4 separate regions of the Homo sapiens genome follow, and regions 2, 3 and 4 are each linked to region 1. Evidence: promoter capture Hi-C in 16 types of primary human blood cells and fetal thymus (Javierre and others, 2016). All regions are on one chromosome and are shown on one strand. The core of a region is centred on a gene start or on the middle of the fragment in contact, and the rest is flanking DNA. Distances in the headings are between cores, read along the strand shown. Region 1 holds the start of SLC26A8 (solute carrier family 26 member 8). Region 2 overlaps BRPF3-AS1 (BRPF3 antisense RNA 1). Region 3 overlaps BRPF3 (bromodomain and PHD finger containing 3). Region 4 holds the start of CLPSL2 (colipase like 2).

What was found. Contacts are between HindIII fragments. The CHiCAGO score rates a contact against its expected background, and 5 or more counts as called.
Region 2: a fragment that was not itself captured here is called in contact with the fragment with the promoter of SLC26A8 in region 1 in 1 of 17 cell types (neutrophils); the score reaches 5.3 in neutrophils.
Region 3: a contact is called between a fragment that was not itself captured here and the fragment with the promoter of SLC26A8 in region 1, in 3 of 17 cell types (naive CD4 T cells, naive B cells and total CD8 T cells). The highest score is 5.7, in naive CD4 T cells.
Region 4: a contact is called between the fragment with the promoter of CLPSL2 here and the fragment with the promoter of SLC26A8 in region 1, in 15 of 17 cell types (activated CD4 T cells, M0 macrophages, endothelial precursors and 12 more). The highest score is 13.3, in activated CD4 T cells.

What each region holds. Positions count from the first base shown.
Region 1 is chr6:36,023,196-36,025,895 of GRCh38, forward strand. SLC26A8 (solute carrier family 26 member 8) reads right to left here and starts at 1,446. Exons shown (of 20, transcript NM_052961.4): 1 at 1,309-1,446. RefSeq lists enhancers at 891-1,392, 1,393-1,892. The HindIII fragment of the contact is 10,062 bases long and covers 1-2,379 here.
Region 2 is chr6:36,189,080-36,191,779 of GRCh38, forward strand. The region is part of intron 1 of BRPF3-AS1 (BRPF3 antisense RNA 1); the gene reads right to left. Among named protein-coding and RNA genes, the nearest start is that of BRPF3, 6.3 kb to the right of the region's middle. The HindIII fragment of the contact is 8,919 bases long and covers 1-2,700 here.
Region 3 is chr6:36,207,937-36,210,636 of GRCh38, forward strand. It overlaps BRPF3 (bromodomain and PHD finger containing 3), which reads left to right. Exons shown (of 13, transcript NM_015695.3): 5 at 1,851-1,979; 6 at 2,280-2,592. Among named protein-coding and RNA genes, the nearest start is that of BRPF3-AS1, 12 kb to the left of the region's middle. The HindIII fragment of the contact is 3,023 bases long and covers 1-2,700 here.
Region 4 is chr6:35,775,178-35,777,877 of GRCh38, forward strand. CLPSL2 (colipase like 2) reads left to right here and starts at 1,421. Exons shown (of 3, transcript NM_207409.4): 1 at 1,421-1,525; 2 at 2,282-2,404. The coding sequence starts at 1,442. RefSeq lists a silencer at 1,402-1,531. The HindIII fragment of the contact is 8,503 bases long and covers 1,213-2,700 here.

The sequences.
Region 1 (2,700 bases), core at 196-2,695:
TCCATCCATCCATTTATCTAATTATTTACATTATCTGTGTTCAGAGTGCTTTAAAAGTAAAGAATAGGCCAGACATGGCTCAGTGGCTCATGCCTGTAATCCCAGCACTTTGGAAGGCCAAGGCGGTTGGATCAGCTGAGGTCAGGAGTTCAAGACCAGCCTGGCCAACATGGTGAAACCCCGTCTCTAATAAAAATACAAAAATTAGCCGAGCATGATGGCGTGCCTGTAGTCCTGGCTACTCAGGAGGGTGAGGCAGGAGAATCGCTTGAACCTAGGAGGCAGAGGTTGCAGTGAACCGAGATCAAACCACTGCATTCCAGCCTGGGCGACAGAGCAAGACTCTGTCTCAAAAAAAAAAAAAAAAAAAAAAGTCAAGAATAAAAAGTTTAAATACAATCCAATTTTTTAGCTATTGACCCAAATAATATGAAATCTTGAAAGCTAGTTTAGTTGCAGGAATATCTTCCCCCTGATATTGTTAACTTTCTTATGTTTTCTATAATCACGGAAAGGCAAAATTTACTTCCGAATTTTCAAAATAAGCATTTGTAATTCCATCAGAAACAACCCTACACCTGTTACTACCTAGGTTTTTATGGAGAATGTATTGGGAATACAGAAAAGGTATAAGCAAAGAGCCTGGCCTTTAGATCCTTTAGTCACTCTGGCTAGTGGCTAGGGATGACTAGTAAGATGACAGTCCTTAAGCGGATGACCATTGGACACATAAACATAGGACAACCACCTTCCATGCAATGTGGATAGAGTAACATGGTGTGTTGGAGAGATGCTCATTATTGGGGTGGGGGTGCTGGAGAAGGCTTCACGGGGCCCCTGACACATCAACGGCATTTGACATGAAAAGAAAGGGGCAAGGAGGTGGGGGTGGGGATTCAGTCACAGGGAACAAAATTAACAAAAGCAGTGGGGTCTGAAAGGAAGAGGAACGGCCGGGCAGTCAGGCCTCAGGAGGAAATGGATGGGGTAGGCGGTGGGGTGCAGGTAGCACGTCAGTTCTGGGGCTTTTGACAATATAGACAGGAGAATTTGAAAGGATGCAGCTTGCAAAACGCACACACTGTTGTCTCTTGTCATTGCCATCCACACGGCCTTTGAAAGTAGAGACAATACCTCAGAGATAAGCTCCCAGGGACGACCATCATTCATTCATTCCACAGATACTGACTGAGTGCCCACGGCGTGCCTGGCTCTGCGGCATACCTGGGTACCTGCCGGTGACGGACGCAGCCCCCGCCCTGGGACCTGCAGCCCCCGGCGCCCAGGCGTCTCCCAGCAGCGGCTCACCTGGCTCCTTGGCGGGGGCGGGAGTGCGGGCGCTGGGATCCCACACGGCTCTCGCCTGGCTGGCGGCGCTGCGGACGCGGATACCGGCGGCGGTTCCCGAGCCGTTGTGGCCTAGCCCGCGGGCGTTCCGGGCGGGCTGAGGAGATGAGAGTGGGGGAGGGGACGAGGAAGAGGAGCATGAGCAGCTGGGCTAGGGAGCCAGGAAAGTGGTACCTGGGTCGCCCTCCTCATACCTGAGTCGTGGGATCCCCTTGGTATTTGGTAAACCTGTATACCAAGGCTCCTTCTCTCTCCGAGGTTTTGCTATTCTTGATCGAGGGCCTATTTGGTGCCAGGCCTCGTGTCCTGAACATACAGCAGTGCACATGTGTCACATGTGTACTGCACAGACGGTAATTCACTAACGTCTCCGGAAGACTTAAGCCTTCCTCAGGTCAGAAGAGGTAAAAAGAAATGGAGGCTAGGAGGGTCACCCAGGTCTCCAACCATAGGCTGTCTGCCCCACAAACCCGGCTCTCCCCACTGAATGACACCCTCCTGCCCAGATCTGCTCTGGATGCAGACATGCCATCTGCACTCACTCCCTTTACCCTCCTCCCACCCTATCCCTGTCCCTAGCACTGTCTCTCACTCCACCTTGTATTCCTGCTTGGCCCAGTTACAGTTTTACACTTGTTTGTTTGATGACTGTGTTAATGTCTACCTTATAATGCACTTTATGTATTCCTTTTTGTAAATCATCTTACCCCTATGAGGGCAAGGACTTTTATCCCTTTCATTAACTGTTTTATTATCAGTGCCTACAGCAGTGTGGTGGACATAGGAAGTATTCAATTAATTTTTGTTGAATGATTGCCCTCCCATTGATTGTAAGCTCCACACCGGCAGCAACTGTAGTTTTTAATCACTTTTAAACTGCAAGTGTTTGACACCTAGTAGGCATTTAATACACATTGGTTGAATGAGTGTATGAATATACTGCTTACTTTATCTTTACCCTTTCATTCACCCTCACCTCATCATCCCAATTTGTAGGATAAAAATGTGCATTTCTGAGGATTCCTACTTCCAAGCTTCCTCCTCACCCTTTGTAACCATTCCCTCATTCCCTTGATCCCCCCAACCCCATCCCTCATGTCTTCACAATCATGTTTTTGCTCTTACTTCCCCTTCACCCTCCATTACTTCTTAGAAAGCTTCCTATCCTCCCTAGTTTGGAACATTCTCAAGCAACATGTTTTTGTAGATAAGAGAATTCCAGCCTAAGCTACATTGGATCCAAAACAGCTTTCCATGAATCACCCATGACTATCTGTTTTTTGGTTTTATATTGCTTTCCTTGAAGAGGACTGAGGATACTGTACCACTTGAAATCATGGTCACTGTTCATAA
Region 2 (2,700 bases), core at 42-2,541, 170 kb after region 1:
TTCTCTATATTGTTTTCCCCATTCTTTTTTCTTGGATTCTGACCTTCATGATACTTTCTTCATATATCTGTTGGTTTTTGGTTGTTTATTCAATGTTAAGAGGTAGTTTTTTTTAAAGCTGTTTAAAACTCTATGTGTGTTGGGGTAGGGGTGGGGAATGCTTGATACCAGGTGAGCTTCAGCATAAGGCAAAAGGTGACAAGCTGGATGTTTTAGTGAAGATGTTCCATCGCCAGTATTCATAAATAGGTCTTTTCTCCATCTTCAGAGAGGAATCATGGTATTCTCTAACATTCTGTAATCCATTGCTTCTCAAATCTTAATATGCATATGAAACATGTAGGGAGATCTTAAAAAGCAGATTCTGGTTTGGTAGGTCTAGAGTGGGGCCTAAAATTCCACATGTTTAACCAACTCCCAGGAGATGTCAATACTATCGGTTCTTGAACAATAATCTAAGTAGCAAGGTTCTGGCTGCGGGTGGTGGCTCACGTCTACGAACCCAGCACATTAGAAGGCCAAGTTGGGAGCACTGCTTGAGCACAGGAGTTCAAGACCGGCCTAGGCAACAAAGTGAGACCCTGTCTCTTAAAAAAAATTATCGAGGCATGATGCTGTGTCCCTGTAGTCCCAGCTACTCAGGAGGCTGAGGTGGGAGGATCGCTTGAGCTTGGGAGGTTGAGGCTGCAGTGAGCTGTGATCACACCACTGCATTCCAGCCTGTGCAACAGAGCAAGACCTCATCTCAAAAAACAAAAACAAACACTAGCAAAATTCTAAAATAAACCTGGCTTCCAGTGTTTTGCAATGTGATTGGGGGAAGAGGCAGGACCACTAAGAATTTTGATCTATGAAACATTTATTTCAACTAAAAGGATGGACTGACTAGAAATGTTTTCATGAAATTTTCTCTTAGCCCCCTTCTGCACCACCAGATTCCAGCAATTTGTACCAGATTTCCCCTCCCTCATCAGTCTAGGGAAGAACATGTGATGGTGATGATTGGGGCTCGGGGGAGCATCTTATTATTTAGTATGCAGAGATTCCCTTTAATTTCCGTTTTCAGTATGACACTTCATCGCTGTCTTCATTGGTTCCTGGTGGCCCCAAGTCTAGAACTTCTTTAGTTCAATTTCTTGAGATAGTAAATCTCACCTGCTGTTGTTTTCCCTCATTCTCTTTGTTCTTGTGGATTTCATTGTCTTGTGGATTTTTTTATCCTTTACTAACATTATTGAAGTTAGGGGAGGGAGTGGGGACCAATGCATGTTGTCAAGCCAGACATTATTTTAACCATGCAATCATTAAACTTTTCCAGAAATGTCCCACTCATTGTGGACTACTCTTTCTACAATGTACAATGTAAATTGTAAATTGAATTTAAATTTGCCATCATTTCATTGTTTTCTATTTGTTTCACCTTTACTATATTTCCTTTTCTTTCCTTGACTTCTTTTAGGTTGGTCGAATTTTTTATTCTTTTTTTACTCTGTACTAGTTTGTGAGTTACATCCTCATTTTTTCATTCTTTTAATGTTAATGATTAGTCTAAAAATTGCAACAGGTATGCTTTATCAACTTAATTGTGGTAAAATTTATGTAAAATAAAAGACAGCTACTCTGTACAGTTTAAGTTTTGGCAAATGTATATATACCTGTTTCTCCACCACTGCCATCAACTTACAGAATGTTTCTATCACTCCAAAAAGTTTCCTCATGCCCTTTATAGTCCCTCCTCCCCTTCACATCCAGGAAGCCACCAATCTGCTATCATTATAGAGCAGTTTGCATTTTCCAGAATTTCATATAAATGGAAACATGTATTTTATTATTATAGGTATTCTGGAGTAATCAAAAGCTAATATTAATCCTTTAACTTTACCTTTTTCTCAGAGTATTTTAATCCTGGAATTCTCTAAAATCCTCTAATTCACTGTTTCTCAACTTTAATATGCATATAAATTACTTATGGAAATCTTGTCAAAATGCAGGTTCTAGTTTAGTATGTGCTATTATTTTTGTGTATTTTCTCTCCCTTTAGTAAAATTATGCCAAGAAGATGGCTACTTTTAGGGTTGGTACTTCTGCTAAAATATGGAATTATATTTTATAGTGTCCTGGCTTCACTCACAGTTAAGAGTTTAGGATTTAATAGAAATCCTAATTAAAGGTTGAAAAGATAAGACATTAGATCAAGTTGAACAATTTATACTTGTCACATACTACTTGCTTTCATGCTTGCTTGGTTTAGCATTCCACTGAGTATATGGTAAAATGTTCTAGCTAGAATTCAAGTTCAGAAGATAATGCAAGCCACACTGGATAGCTAATTTAAACCATACCGTATCACACTCTCTTGCCTGACTAGAACTTAAAGCATGGAACTATTGAAGTCATTTCCCTGTTCCAAAAATCATCAGGGTCTCCTGCCCCTTCATGTCTAGCTCCCTACCCAACCAACAGTCTCCATGCTCTGACTTTACCTTACCAGCCTTCTCTCTCATATCCCTCATTTTTGGGTCAATGGGTAACCCACTGTTTCCTGAAACAATCTTATGGCATTCCATGTGTTAAAGAAAAGACAGCAGACCCCAAATGGAGTCATTCATGCTGAGAGGTTCCATGACACCAAACCAAAACCTGTATTTTACTGTAAGATCTGACTCTTCAAGAAATCAGGAGAGAGATGATAGTCAAATC
Region 3 (2,700 bases), core at 77-2,576, 180 kb after region 1:
GTGTTTAGGAACATGAGCTATGGCACCAGACTGCCTGGGTTGAAATCCTGCCTCTTCTACAGACTACCTGTATGACATTAAGCAAATTCTTTAATCGCTTAATACATTGGTTTTCTCACCTGGAATATGGGGGTAATTATAGAGCCTACATCATAAGGTTGTTTTGAGGATTAGATGACTTCATCATGTAAAGAGCTTAGAACAGTGCCTGGCACATAGTAACAGCCAGAGAAATGTCAGCTGCTGTCATTATTATTATTATCAATACTCTTTGCTTCTCTGAAGTGTCTACTGCACATGGCAGAGAGCAAATACTGTTAATTAAGTGGATGAAAAGCCAAAACTGTTCTCTCTGGTCTAGGAATAGCAGCTGTCACTCACATGCTTCAGAGGCCAGGGTTAAAGATGTTCCTTTCTTGCCGGGCACAGTGGCTCATGCCTGTAATCCCTGCATTTAGGGAAGCAGAGGCAGGAGGATAGGTTGAGTCCAGGAGTTTGAGATGAGCCAGGGCAACAAAGCAAGACCTGTTCTCCACAAAAAGGGGAAAAAAAAAAGATGTTTCTTTCTCTTTCTCCAAATTCTAATTCAGTGGTCAGCCTTAGCACAACCCCTTTTCTAGCAGGCCAGTAGCCTGAGTTTCCTCCTCATAGCCTGGGCAGCTCATGCCATATTTACCATGGATGGCCATGGAGGACATCTCAGGACCTTCTTCAAGGGTTCAAAATGTCTGTGCTGTCCCAGGCATGATCCCACAGCTGAACTTCTCATCTCATCTCTGGTTCAGAGAAATGAGAGAGAGAAGAAGGCCTGGTCCTGGGGAAGTAGGCAGGCCTGTTTTGATATAGCCAAAAGGTGGAAATTTTCTATAGTCTTAATTTGTGGCTTCCCAACTTTTCACATTAGGGCATATGTAGAAAATAGCATTTGTACAGCATACTACTGTAAGTATATGAAGCTACTTGCCACTTGCGGGGGCAAGCCTGGAGGCCCTGGTGACCCCATGCTGACCCAGATGCTCCAAGGGCTGATGGAATCAGTATCTCAGCACACTGGGAAATTCTGGTTCAAGCACATTTTACATCATCATTGTGTCCCTTGGACTAAGTCAGACCTGGGTTCAAATCCTATCTCTATTCTTTTCTAGACAGATGACCTTAGACTAGTAACTCCTTCATCATGCTGTCTCTAAACCTCAGATTCCATATACATTTTTTTAATTTGTATTTTTTTTCTTTTAGTCCTTGGTGATCCTTGTTCTGATCCATATTTGTAAAATGGGGATAATAATTTCTGTTTCAGGGTTATCGTGATGATTAATTGAGGTAATACAAGTACAGAGTTAGTGTGGCATAATGGCCAAGAGCACTCACTGTAGAATCACTGGGACTGAATCCCAACTCTGCTCCTTATTAGCTATGACTTTAGGCCAGTTACTTAGTTTCCTCTAGTTTCCTCCTAGTTCCTTAGTTACTTGGTTTCCTCTTTGTAAAATACCTCATCTGTTCCTACCTCATATACTCATTTATTTTACATAAAATGCTTAGAACATTACCTGGCATTTAGTAAGGGCTATAGAAGTGTTAATGATTATAATTGTAATGATAATTATTATTGTTACTGTAAATTTTAGTATGATGTTTGGTACATAGGAAACAATAATAAAATAGTAGCTGTTGGTGTCATTATTCCTAGGCTAAAGGTTGGGTGATAGCTTCTCATATACTGGTCAGCTTAATATTCTATGAAAATTTGTTGTACAAGATTGGTAAAAGTCAAACTATCAAGAAAAAGTTTCAGTACATCTTTGCAGGGGATGTTCTGATCTGATCTCACCCCACCTTCCCCACAGGTCAAAGTCCAGCAGGCTGCCATGGAGCTGGAGCTGATGCCATTCAATGTTCTGTTGAGGACAACACTGGACCTGCTGCAGGAGAAGGATCCTGCACACATCTTCGCAGAACCAGTCAACTTGAGTGAGGCAAGTTCCCCCTACTTTCCAAGTAGTAAATTCTTCTTGAACTGGAACAGGGTCTGAGTAGGCTAGGAAGGAGTTGGGCCACAGGGTGTACAAAACCAGGGGTAGGAGGGTGGGTCTGGCAAAGCTAGTAGACTTGCCCTTGATGAGGGGTCAGCAGGCCAGGGTGGGCCAGGACTGTAGGTCTTTGAGTTAGCCTGGCATGGCCAAATCAGAAATTGAGGAGGCCAAGAGTATTGGTGAAGGGTGTGTCTGTTTGGCTAGTAAATGGTTGTTGTAATTGTACAGGTTTTATATGTTTAGGTTCCAGATTACCTGGAATTCATATCCAAGCCAATGGATTTTTCTACTATGAGGCGGAAGCTGGAGTCCCACCTGTACCGCACCTTGGAGGAGTTTGAGGAGGACTTTAACCTTATAGTTACCAACTGCATGAAGTATAATGCTAAAGACACAATTTTCCACCGAGCAGCTGTCCGCCTGCGGGACCTGGGAGGGGCCATCCTACGGCACGCCCGGCGGCAGGCAGAGAACATCGGCTATGACCCCGAGAGGGGCACTCACCTGCCCGAGTCACCCAAATTGGAAGACTTTTACCGCTTCTCCTGGGAAGACGGTGAGAGGCCTGGATGGGTGGGGAGGAGAGGGGCCAGGAGGAGGCACAGGAACAGAGTCTACAGAGTGAGGGATCAGGGTGGTCCTTGGGGCTATAGGTAGACTCCAG
Region 4 (2,700 bases), core at 171-2,670, 250 kb before region 1:
TGCCCCAAATCAGACTGTACATAAAGCATTATTGTGCCAAGCCACGAAATTCCAGGAGTTCTGTTGTTACAGCCAGTGTTAATTACTCTGTGACAGCTAGTGTTAATACAGGGAGGGCTCACGGAAATAATGGATACAAGGCCCTCTGAGTGCGGTGGGGGCTGTTATTCTTGGCTGTTATTCCCCACCAAGACAGGATTCCTCGGTTCATTTCTTAAGCGAAACTTCAAAAGCAGAAGCAGGCTGGGAGTGGTGGCTCACGTCTGTAATCCCACCACTTTGGGAGGCCGAGGCAGGAGAATCTCTTGAGCCCATGAGTTCAAGACCAGCCTGGACAACATAAGGACAACCTGTCTCTATAACAAATATTAACAATACAAAATTAAAAAAAAATAGAAATTAAAAAAAAGCAGAAGCAGGCAGGTGGGGTGAGGTGGAAGCTTCATCCATAGGGAAGTCCTGAGGAAGGCCTGCCTCCCCCGGTTCCAGGATTGCTCTGTGCAGCTCTAGCTCTCCCTTAACCCTCCTCCCTATTCTGAGTTTTCTTCTCTTCCCACTTCTCCATTTTGCCCCCACATCTTGACTTTCACACAATTCACAGACAAATCCTTAGACAATTAATAGAATGATTAAGACTGCAAGAGATTTAAGACTTAGAGACCATCTTGTCCCACCTCCTGGTTCTTACAGAAGAGGAGAATGGGGCCTGCAGCGGGTGTGAGCAGCCCAGAGGGTGGGGCTGGATTATCCCGAAGGTAAGGGGAGAATCTGGGGCTGCAAGGGCAGACAGAGAATCAACATCAGGAAGGAAGCTCTTTTTATTTCAGCATATATGTTTTGTGCCGTTTATAAAAATAAAGTTTTGAGGCCAGGTGCGGTGGCTCACACCTGTAATCCCAGCACTTTGGGAGGCTGAAGCAGGACCATCACTTGAGGCCAGGAGTTAGAGACCAGCCTGGGCGACATGGGGAGACCCCCGTCTCTACAGAAATTTTTAAAATTATCCCGGCGTGGTGGCGCACACCTGTAGTCCCAGCTACTCGGGAGGCTGAGGCAGGAGGATCACTTGAACCTGGGAGGCGGAGATGGCAGTGAGCCGAGATCACGCCACTGCACTGGGCGACAGTGCGAGACTCCGTCTGTAAAATAAATAAATACAATAAAATAGAGTTTTATCTTACAATAAAAATAGAGTTTTATCTTACAGTTTCAAGCTTCTACTTGGAAGTAACACGTATGGAGGCTCCCAGGGCCCCTACAGTCTGGAATCCCGCCCGTGCGAGCCTGAGCGCCTTTCCTCCCTCCTTCCCTTCCGCAGGCGTCCTCGCCCTCCACGTCCCTCCTCCGCCGGGGTGGCCTGGGGCGCCGGGTCACGTGGCCGGGGAAGAGGTTTTATCCCGCGGCCCCTCGGAACCCCGCCGCTGCTCTGCCGCCCAGGCCCATGGCCGCAGCCCTGGCGCTCGTGGCGGGGGTCCTGTCGGGGGCGGTGCTGCCCCTCTGGAGCGCGCTTCCGCAATATAAAAAGGTGAGCCGGGGAGCGCGCCCAGCCGGCCGCGACCGCAGGAGAGGGTGGCCCCGCCGCCGGGGCACTGGAGCCCGAAGGCGCCGGGCAGCCTGAAAGGGAGAGGTGGGTCCGGAACCACACCCAGGCGGGTAGCCTGGGGCATCCTCAGACGGACTTCAAAAGCCGCTTCACTTTCCCCTGGTGGCCTCAGAGGGGAGAGAAATTGGCCTATGACCAGCACCCTCGCTCCCTCCACCTCCCCCGCCCGTGCCCCTTCCGATGGCCTCAGTCCTGGGCTCGCTTCCCTCCCCAAACTGCTCACAGGCAAACCCACCCTGCATGCTCTGGTTTCTCCTCCTCTTCTTCCACCTCCTCTCACTGTCTAGTGATTCTTCCAGGCACGAGGGCTCTCCCCTTTTCTCCTCTTTCTCTCCCTCTTTTTCGAGCCCGCAGCCCCTTCATTCTCATCCCCCAACCCTGCCCCGCAAAATGGGACTTAAGAGTACACACCCCATGGGACTCATGGAGGTGAGGGGGGTCCAGGAAAGGAGAGGCCGAGGGAAAAGTGCTAATCCCCCTCTCCTCCTCTCTGCTGCCCTGGGTCCTGCTGAGGGGCCGGGGTGGGGCTGGGGGGGGAACCAGCCCCCCAAGGGGTGACAACCTCATGACTTCTCCTGGATCCCTGGGCTCTTTGGCAATGGTGGGAACCCTCCCCTACCCGCCCACACGACTCAGGGATTGCTCCCAGCCTGGCAGACATTCTGCCTGTCCCCACAGAAAATCACAGACAGGTGCTTCCACCACTCTGAGTGCTACAGTGGCTGCTGCCTCATGGACTTGGACTCCGGTGGAGCCTTCTGTGCCCCCAGGGCCAGAATAACCATGATCTGCTTGCCCCAGGTGAGGCCCTAGTATGGGGCAACTTCTGGCAAGTAGAGAAGCGGGCAGGGAGGTTAAAAAAAAAACACCTGGCCCCACCTGTTTTTTCACCTCTGTCTGGAGTGCCCTTCTTCTTCTCCACTTGGCAAACTCCTACTCATGGTGCAAAACAACTCCAGCCACCTCCTCTGAGAAGGCTTCCCTCCTTGGAGCTCCTGTACCCTGGGGTCAGACCCTCAGCAGACCATGTATCTCCCTAACTGGCCATGTCTTTTCTCTGCCTCTCCCAGTGGTTGGAACTCTTCAAGGGCAGGGAT